Regions from separate parts of the Homo sapiens genome. Here region 2 is linked to region 1. The links are contacts of gene promoters, found by promoter capture Hi-C in blood cells and fetal thymus (Javierre and others, 2016). All regions are on one chromosome and are shown on one strand. Each heading gives the region's core, a stretch centred on a gene start or on the middle of the fragment in contact. The rest is flanking DNA. Distances are from core to core; before and after follow the strand shown. Region 1 holds the start of PID1 (phosphotyrosine interaction domain containing 1). Region 2 has its middle 69 kb from the start of DAW1.

Region 1 (5,550 bases), core at 2,646-5,145:
GAAATGGTAATCTCAGTGAAGACAGCTAGATGATTATATTGGAACCTTTATAGAATGCCTCATGAGAAGATGGTTACATGTAAACTTCACAATTAGAATCTGCTAGAACTCATACGCCTATCACATTCCACTCTATCCTAGTAATAACTACACCAAAGACCTTTAAGGATGTGTTGACCTCCTTCGTTTCTAAGTCAGTCTTGATTCATCTTTCTCCTCCTATCAAGGCCTCCAGAAAATGCATCTGGTAGCTCAGTGAAGACATTTGCTCTGAGAAAATACTTGTTCCTATGGATGGGACACAGTCTTGCATGGATGGGTTTGTTACTTCTGAGGGATCCACCCAGTACAATCATCAAGTCAATCCAGAAACTCATACAAATTTTAAAATTTCAAGGCCAGAGGTAATCTCATCTCTATTTCATAAAAACCAGTAGGGTTTTTATTTGTTCAGAAAAGTCTCCTTTACTTTTCTGAAAGGAGTCTGTTTCAAATCTGCTTCTTTAAAAATGTATAACACTCCTCAATACCTCCAAGAAAAAAAAAAAGTCTGCTGTGCAGACGGGAAGGTGAAAAGAGAAGAATTCATATTTATTCACTGTAAAAAGTTGGGGTGGTAAATTAAATCTTCACATCCCTTTTGATCCTATTATATTTTTAATGGCAGAAGCTCCCAGCGAGGGCTCGAGTGGGATGCAATAGAAGTTTTAACATTCAAGGGAGCAGATGAACTTGCCTCGGTTTGTGTGACTGAATGAGAAATTACCCAGCGCAGCTCTGCTCAGGGCAATAGGTCCCTTTGCCTGTGCTGGATTTGGGTCAAACAGCTAAACCTCAAATCAGAAAATATCAGCATCATTTTGTGGGGACACAGAAGTGTGGGTAACAATAATGATAATCAAACCTGATCAAAGATGCCATTTCCTGAGCAACGGAGCCAGTTGCTACACTCAAAAGTCCATTATTTAGAGGGTGACTGTTCTACGCAAAGATCTATCACACTCCCCTGGGACACAGACTTCTCAAACCAGCTTCATCGAATATGAACTATATCATCAAGAAAGGGTCTGGTTATTTTCTTCCATCCCCTCTTTTGATTCTAGGTATTGATAAAATAAATTGACTCCTTAGTCCTATTAGGAAGTTCTGGGAATGTTTCCTTGACGAATTTTCTTCACTCTGGCTCATCTAAATTAGAATGTTTGTATTAAAGATAAATGAGAAAAAAATTAATGAGGTCGAATGAGAAGGTTTATAAAGATTTGTGAAAGGCACATGGAGCTCAGACATCATTAAAGAGCAGAACTCATTCTCAAGTTTCCTATCCAGCATGATATCCACTGCTATCTCTGTGGCCACAGAGCCTGGGAGTGGCAAAGTGGCTTCTCACTGAGGAATCGGACAGGCATGTTTCTATATCACGGTGAAAGGAAAAGAAAAGGAAAAAACCCCAGACAGCAAACAGAGATTGTGACAAAGATAACCACAAGGAATGTAAATAAAATATGATAAGCAGCTCACTCACCATCTCATCCTCAACAGCTCTCTCAGAGGCAAAAGTAAAAACATATAAATTATGTGTTTTCAAGGAGAGTCAAGCAATACTCTTTGGGAAGAAGCCACGGATATAAAAAAATTTTTCCGCATTTGTCTCACTTCTCTAATCTCAAGGCTTGAGATGTATGTACTTTCAAAAGAGACTCATCGAAATTTGGGCAGCATGAAGTTGAGCCCCCTGTTGGTAAGGACCTTCCAACAGTGACTCGGTCTTATTGGTGATAAGCCCTGTTTATATGAGCTTTCAAAAGCCTAAAAACAGGTTCTTTCAACATGACACCTTGAAATAAAATAAACGCATTGCAAACACCAACTGCAATAAACCAGGCTCACGCCAAAATGCACACGTGCACATTTCACAAAATAAGGGGGAGACATTTCTAGTGAGGAGCAATCTCTATGGGAAGGCAAGCGAGAGCGCCCACCTGCCAAGGGTCACATGCTCCAGAGCGCACAGGATTCCCTAAGTGAAACAGGCCGGTAGGAAGAACTTGAATAGTCAAAAATCTACAAACTCTTCAGAGGTACAGATCATCAGGCCATAAAAGCCACCTCAAGGAATTTTGGTCACATCTCTCTAAGGACTTCCAAAAGCTACCCTCTGCACTTGAACAGGAAACCTGCCAGCTCCCCTCAATCATTCTGCTCCTTTGGAATAGAAGTTACGCCTTTAACCGAAGGAGAACTTCAAATGCGCCACTGGTATCTGGTGCCACTGCCAAAATATATTTACATCACCTTCTATCAGTCATTCAGAGCCCAGTGCTGATATTCTCTTAGTAAGACAAGGAGGGGGTTAGGAGGTTGGTCATCCACCTCCTCATCTGCAAGGCTAAATGCAGGTTTTCTTGTTTATTCTACTTGAGACCCTGGGGAACTGGTCTGGTGTCTCAGGCTCTGATAAATTGAACACACTCCCCGCAAATCATGGCCCAGGGAGCTTTGGAAAGGAGCTGTGGGGCATCTGTTTCTGCTAAATGCAATGCCCTCTGCGGGTTGTTCCTCTGTATGAGGACTCCTAGACAAAGGTTAGCCTCTCCCTGCATCTGAGAAACTGTGCTTGGGGCTGTAAATGTTCATTGAGAAGCCTCCAACCTAGCCAGGGCCTGGCCTCATTGTCCTAAGTCTTCAGATGCACTCAGCCTCCAATGGTGCTGTATTTTACCAGTTAAACACGTCTTCAAAGTTTACTACGAAACAATGTGGCTCCTAGCTTGCCAAAAGTTTAACTGCAGGATTCAGTGGATTTTATCTGGCAGAGTAGCTGCCGTGACTCTTGACAATATTTGCCAGCAAAAGGCAGTCCTCAAACCTTGCAACCAGGGCAATCCCAAGGCCCAACGTGTCACTGAAGGAGTTCTTCTGGGAAAGGTCCCTCTTTCTCTTCAATCGCCTCCCGCAAATCCCCAGCTTCCAGAATCCAATTCAAGGCAGTCTGGCATTTCAGGAGACAGCAGTAAAAAACTTTTGATGGGATAACCCAGGACATAAATATTCCTGGCTGAACCTACTTTTGATTCTTAAATATCTGAAGGAGCTTGGGTTTAAGGAAGATAAAGGGAGAGAACCAATGAATAGGGAAAAATAAAATAAGTAGCATACCATGACCAAGCCAAACCAAGCTTGATATTTCCACATTATATTGGCAAATGGATGCTTTCACATATCACTTGTTCTGTCTTTCCTGGTGACCACAAAAAAAAAAAAAAAAAAAAAAAAATCTGGCTTCAAAAATCCTAACCCCAGACCACTGCATTGTGTCAGTGGAATGCAATCTAAATTGCCAGTCAGAAAGTCCAACCTTATATGTACCAACCAACACGCACACAAGCACCTCCAAGCCAAAAGTTGTAACGCCTGAACCCGTGCGTTTATCAATTTCATCATCCCCATACCCCTGCCGGGTTCCTGGCGCTGGGTAAACCGACAGCATCATGTTGCCATCGATGCGTCTTACAAGATGGTTTTGGGCAAATCCCCTAAAGTAGGCAGAAGCAAAAACTAGGTTCCTCTGCCCGGGCACCTCCTCCTCCAGGCTGGCCCCCGGCTCCCGGGTGCCCCTTACCTGCAGGCGCTCCGTGGCCGGCTGCCACATCTTCCAGCCCTGGGTTTTGGCAGAGGAGACGCTGGCGAGACTGTCGATCGCGCCGGGGGGCGAGGGGCTGGGGTCCCGCTTTACATCTGGGGTCGGTGTCCGCGGGATGTGCGTCCTGGCGCTGGCCACCGCCGCCGGGTGGGCGTAGGGGGCTGCGAGCAGGAGGAGGCGCGGCGCTCAGCTGCCGGCAACTTGTGGGCACGGCCGCGCGCCGGCTGTCCTGGCGCAGCTGCGAGAGGACTGCGCAGCTCCGCCCGGGCCCGGCGAGCGCGCGGCGGCGGCGGGGGCGGCCGCTCCCTCCTCCCCCGCCGCCGCCGCCCGGACCTGCGCGCTCTGAGCATGCCCGGGGCGGGCGCCCAGGGGCCGCGCGGGGCGGGAGTGCAGCGCGGCCGACTCTAAATCCTAGTGAGGGGTGAATGGGGAGGCTAGAACAGCCGGCCCTTCCCTGCAGGAAGCCCCCATTGGGTTGGGGTCTGGGAAAAGGGACAGACTGGCTGAGGGGGGAAGGGCCTGGAGCCGGGGGTGGTGGGGGCAGCGGGGATGTCGGGGGTGGCGGGGGTGGGGGAAATTCCTAAAATAAGGAAACCGTAGCCCCGGGGGTCCCGGGTTTCCATATAACAGGCATCTCTGAAGTGCCTGTGCTGTGCCTGGCGCTGTGCTAGGGAGACACTTCCATTCATTCTTCCCACTCCAGTTAACTGAGCATCTATTAGGCTCCAGCCCCTATGCTGGGTTCTGAGGATGCAGCGACGCAGAATAGAAGACAAGAGAATGTTCCTTCTCTCTGGAGCTTACCTTCTGCTTTGGAGAGAGAGTCGTGACTGAGCAAACACATCAACAAGCCGGTGCTATATCGGGTGGTGATAAAACAGGGCAGATGTGGGAAGAAGGGGAGAGGAGAGCTTCTTAGACAAGGGCCCTGGGGAATGCCTGGAGTAAGACCTGAGAGATGAGAGGGATTGGCCACGAAGAGGCCATGCTTCATGATGGGGAGAGGACTCGACTCCTAACCTATACAGGGGTGAGGAGGGCCATGCAGACTCCCGAATCACTAACTCATCCTGAGATCTGCCAGGTGCAGCAGGAGGCTCTCAGAACCCAAGGGAAAGCCGCTCTGGGCTCGCAGGCCTGGAGGCTCCCCGGCTAGTGCCGGCCACCATGAGATGACTTCCTGTCCTAAACAGGCCAGCCCTTCCCATTCTCTTGACAACTCGGCAAAATAACTATTAATATTTTCACCATGTGGATCAAACAAATGAGGCTTATAAGGTTTAGGTCACTTGTCCAGGTCACACAGCCAGTGAGTGGCTTAGAGAGTGCACAGTCAGATGACTTCAGGGCAGGAGATGTGGCCCTGCGCCTCTAACTGACCATGGAAACCCAGTGGAAAGAGCATCCGTCTAGGGCTGGGGGTTAAAGGCACTTGGCAAGTCAGGGATACTAAGCTGATTCTCGAGCTGATGAAGAGTGGGAGAGGAGAACATGGTGGGAAGAACTCAGGACATAGAATGACCAAAGAGAGGAGCAGAGAGAACACAATGTTTGTGGGGAGCCCTAGGCTCCTACAAGGCAGGGTCCTGAGAGCAGAGGGGTGTGAAAGAGAGGCATTTCATACTGAGACAGCTGCACAGCTTGGGCCGTGAGCTACTCATGCAATGTCAAAATCCACACTCCATGTCTGGAAGGAGGATCTGTCCATTTTCCTTGTTCTGCATGACTACAATGATTTCCAGATATGGAACCACTCCAGAATCTAACCCTCAGCTCATCGGACCCTCGCAGCAACTCTCCGTGGGACAGAAGCCCCTATCTCCCAAGGCTTGGGGAGCACAGGGTTCACAGAGTCACACTGTGGGGAGTTACAATGGCGATTCAGATCCAGGATTCCAGGCAGATCC
Region 2 (5,061 bases), core at 1,924-4,423, 1.3 Mb before region 1:
GCAAGAAGGTCCACGAAAGTAGACTTTGAATTCTCCTTGGGACTCTGTGGATTTGTCAAACATCCTGCTTTTTCCAAGACAGGATGCAGGTGAAGTGACAAGTGCTTCTATCTCTGTCCACTGGGATCATCACCTTTTCCTGTTTGGATAGATAACATTTTCTCATATTCCATTTTAAAAATCTTTTCCACCTCAAGTGCCTTTTGGCACTGCTTTAGCAGTTTGCTGTGTGGGCTGTACAGCAGCTTTGCTGCTGCCCCAATGTTTCATAGAGATGTTTGTGATGGAGCACTATGTTTTTAACTTATCTTCCCAGGGCTGTGGCCCAAGTTCACGGAGGAGAGATGAGGTCGGGAAAAATGTGGCTAGTACACATCTACAGTGTTCACAACAGTCTGCCTCCTCTGTCAGGGACTCATTGTCTTTGGAATAAGCCCCATAGGACCTGGAGGCTGCTGCTGGACCTCAGTAATGTCCACAAAGACCTGCAACCTCAGGAGTGTTATTGTCCCTTTTCAATCAGGTCCTACCACCAGGAGACGAAGCTTCTCTTCTTACTCGGAGCTTCTCCAAAATGTGGCATGTTAGAGTGCTCTAAATAGTGAATTAATTGATTGATTGATGGAGTAAATACATGAATGAATGAATACTAACATGGCTCATGACTTTAACATTGATTTTCAAACTCAGCTTTATGGAGTCTCAGCTATTTTTCAAAGCTCAGTGAGTGAGGAGCTGAGTACACGGAATCCTGTCTTCCACACTGCACTTTAGCCAGAGGAGTGCCATTAAAAACACTTTTTTTGTCTTTGATTTTAGCCTCCAAGTAAAAAGCATTTGAAGAAAAATTTTTTGAATCTTGAGATAGAGAGATAGAGAGTTAGATAGATAGATAGCAAGAAACCACTGGCTGCAAGAATGAAGTTCTGCATTTAATTGTGCAAAATCTGGTCATGATCTATTCGTCCACACTTGTTTTCCCTCACTCTATCACATGAATTCTTTGTTTAGTTTATCTTGTATGATGTGTCCAGATATGCCCTTTCTAATCTCTACACTTTTGTTCCCCCACGCTCTATCCTTTAACCCCAGGTCATATTATAAATCTTCTCTGATCTCCATGGCCAGATGTGCTCACTCCTTACGCTGAATTCCAATAGCATTTATTGTGTCTCAAGGCCCATCCTTTATGTTGCATGTTTTACCTCTTCAACCAGATTGTTCCTCCTTCCCTTCCCCTTCCTTCCTTCCTTCTTTCCTTCCTTCGTTCCTTCCTTCCTTCCTTCCTTCCTTCCTTCCTTCCTTCCTTCCTTCCTTCCGGCTTTGCTCTTTGCTTTAGATGGAATACTCTCAGGAAGTGAGAATAATTTTATATGATTGGGTGTCTTCATAAATTATCCATTGAGAAAGCAAACTAGAGCAAGGTTAAAGTTGTAATTGGTAAAGGAGCAGCTGTCACTCATACCAGCCAGGAGAGGGGGCTGTTTAGTCACTTTCGTGGCTTGGACAACGCTCATGTTGTGTCTGTTCAGATGGCCGTATGGTGATTTTTTTGTTTTGTTTTGTCTTTTGTCTTGGCCCACATCATGATCACAGAGTAGCCTTGTTTGTGTTGATGTTCACTGGGTGCCTGTTATGGGCCAGGCGTGTTGCTAGGTACTGGGATTCATAAAAGGGAAGACAGACATCTCTCCCTCACGGTTTACAATTTAGTGAGGGTTGGGGAGTATATCAATCGAGGTTCAAACAATGAACGGAGTAAGTAGAAAACATAAAGACATTTACTGTAAGGAATTGTCTTCCAGGATTCTGAGGCTGACTAGGCAAGTCTGAAATTCTTAGGGAAGGCCATCAGGATAAGTGTCAGCTGAAACTTTTGCCACAGGCAGAATATCTCATTCTCCTGAGAGGCTTTTATTCTTCTCTTTAGATCTTTCAGCTGAGTGAATCAGGGCCATTCAGACTGTGTACGATAATTGCCCTTACCTAAAGTCAGCTGATTATGGATTTTAATCACCTCTACAAAATACCTTCATAAGACCCAGTACAGTGGCTCATGCCTATAATCACAACATTTTGGGAGGCCAAGGTGGGAGAAATCTGCTGTTAATCAGATAGGTTTTCCTTTATAGGTTACTTGATGCTTTGCCTCGTAGCTCTTAAGATTCTTTCCTTTGTCTTGACTTTAGATAACCTGATGACAATGTGCCTAGGCGATGATCTTTTTGTGATGAATTTCCCAGGTGTTCTTTGAGCAAGGCCGGGGAAAGTTTTTTCGATTATTCCCCCAAATATGTTTTCCAAACTTTTAAATTTCCTCAGGAATGCTGATCTTTCTCAGGAATGCCAATTATTCTCATATTTGGTCATTTAACATAATCCCAAACTTCTTGGGGGTTTGCTCATTTTCAAAATTCTTTTTTCTTGTCTTTGTTGGATTGGGTTATTCCAAAAACCTTGTCTTTGAGCTCTGAAGTTCTTTCTTCTGCTTGTTCAATTCTATTCCTGAGACTCTCAAGTATGTTTTGCATTTCTCTAAGTGTGTCCTTTATTTCCTGAAGTTGTGATTGTTATTTATGCTACCTGTTTCACTGAAGATTTCTCCCCTCATATCTTGTATCATTTATTTGATTTCCTTAAGTTGGACTTCACCTTTCTCTGGTGCCTGCTTGAATAGCTTAATAATTGACCTTCTGAATTCTTTTTCTGGCAATTCAGATTTTTCTTCTTGGTTTGGATCCATTGCTGGTGAGCTAATGCGACTTTTTGGGGTGTTAAAGAACCTTCTCTTGTCATATTACCAGAATTGTTTTCCTGGTTCCTTCTCATGCGGGTAGGCTATGTCAGAGGGGAGATCTGGAGCTCAAGGCTGCTGTTCAGACTCTTGTGCCACGGGGTACTCCCTTGATGTAATATTCCCCCTCTTTCCCTAGGGATGTGGCTTTCTGAGAGCCAAACTGTAGTGATTGTTATTTCTCTTCTGAATCTAGCCAGCAAGCAGGGCTGCCAGGCTCTGGGCTGGTACTGGGGGTGTCTGCACAGAGTCCTGTGAGGTGAACTGTGTTCAGTTCTCTCAGCTGTGGATACCAGCACGGTATTTGAGATGTCTCCTGGATCCTGCAGGAGGAATCCACTTCCTTCAAAGGGTCTGTGGATTCTCTTGGCTTTTCTGGTATACTCCTGCAGTAGTTTTTGGAGCAATAGTCCACAATGCTAGTCTCCACATTCTGCTCTGTCTATCCAGAGTGGGAGCTGCACTTTAGTACTGCCTCCTATCTGCCATTTTTTTTTCAGTCACCTGTCAGTTGAGAAATGTGTTTCTATTTTCCTTTGGATAACTGGAAGCTAACTAATGTTAAGTTTAATTTTTAATTTAATGTTTAATATTAAGACTACTTAAAAGACTTATCCCAGGAGCTTAATGCAATTATTAAAGTCATTGAATCTGAAACTAGGGAACTTTAAAAATACCAGTGCCTGGGCTCCACTGTGGACCAATTAAATCAGAATCTCTGACAGTTAGGGCCCTGACCTTGGTAGTTTGAAAATGTTCCCAGGTGATTCTGATATAGCCAAGGTTGAGAATAAATGCTCTAAATATATTTGAATTTTTTGGTTTTCCTGTTTTATACATGTTTTGATATTGAAATGATCATTCTATCATCTTTGGAAATAAATGCCTTCATAAATTGGAAATAACTAATTATTTCGGTAAAAATAAATACATGTTATTAAAGCCACTGAGACACTTGAAATCACCTTCCTAGACTGTAAGCACATGGAGGGCAGGTACCACGTGTTACTTAGACATTCATTAGGATAGGCAAGGTTGTGCTATAGAAACAAACAAACACGAAATACACAAATTGCTCCCCTCTCAATTCTTAGATGATTCACAAAACAGAAGTTTATTTCTCACTTCTGTAAAGTAAGCCTGCTGTGCTCTAGGTGACTCTTCAGGCCACCAGTTCTCTGTGGATGACTCATGTGCTGCTCCACATCAACACATGGTCTCAGGATCACTGAGACAAGGGCAGAGAGGTTGTAGAGTTCAGAACTGACAACTGACACATGACACTTCTGTTCAGTTTTTTTGGTCACCTAGCCATACATAACTTCAAAAAAAGGGGGAAAGGGCTGTGCACAGTGGCTCAAGCCTGTAATCCCAAAACTTTGGGATATCAAGGTGGGAGGATCACTTGAGTCCAGGAGTTCAAGACCAGTCTGGGCAACATAGTGAGACCTTGTCTCTACAAAAAAAAAAAAAAAAAAAAAAAGAAAGAAAGAAAGAAAAAAAAGAAAAAAAATTAGCGAGGCAGGTGGCATGTGCCTGTAGTCTCAGCTATTCAGGAGACTGAGAGGTGAGGATTACATGGGCCCAGGAGTTTGAGCCTGCAGTGAGCTATGATTGTGCCACTGCACTTCAATCTGGGCAACAGAGTGAGACCTTGTCTCTATAAAAAAGGTGGGGAGGAATGTAATCCTTTGAGTACATGGAAGTTGAAGAAAAATAGATACTGATTAACATTAGTAATATCTAGCCTGTTTGGTTTTATATTTCTGCACTTAACCTAATAACTCTCATAGTGTGAGAGCTTACTAGATATTCAGGAATCCACATTAAGTTACCCTCTCTTATCCTTACAGGATATGTTCCAGTCGCCAGTGGATGCCTGAAACCTATATATATAATATTGAGCCCTGTATATACTATGTTTTTCCTGTACATGCATACTATGATGAAGTTTAATTTATAAATTAGGCACAGTAAGAGACTAACAATGATAATTAATAATAAAATAGAACAGTTAGAAAAGCTATCACAATATACTGTAATAAAAATTATGTGAATGTGATCTGTCTTTTCCCTCAGCTACTAAGTGACGGAGGGCAGGTAGTGTCTACAGTCACATGCTGGTCAAAGGGATGATTCGCTTCCCAAATGGGACAGAGTGGGATGGCATAAGATTTCATCATGCTACTCAGAATGGAAAGCAATTAAAAATATATAAATTGTTTATTTCTGGAACTTTTTACTGATTATTTTTGGGTCCTTGGTTA

Evidence for each region. Contacts are between HindIII fragments. The CHiCAGO score rates a contact against its expected background, and 5 or more counts as called.
Region 2: a fragment that was not itself captured here is called in contact with the fragment with the promoter of PID1 in region 1 in 1 of 17 cell types (endothelial precursors); the score reaches 8.9 in endothelial precursors.

What each region holds. Positions count from the first base shown.
Region 1 is chr2:229,267,392-229,272,941 of GRCh38, forward strand. It overlaps PID1 (phosphotyrosine interaction domain containing 1), which reads right to left and starts at 3,896. Exons shown (of 3, transcript NM_001100818.2): 1 at 3,623-3,896. The coding sequence starts at 3,652. The HindIII fragment of the contact is 3,085 bases long and covers 3,178-5,550 here.
Region 2 is chr2:227,938,251-227,943,311 of GRCh38, forward strand. No RefSeq gene overlaps it. Among named protein-coding and RNA genes, the nearest start is that of DAW1, 69 kb to the left of the region's middle. The HindIII fragment of the contact is 5,260 bases long and covers 544-5,061 here.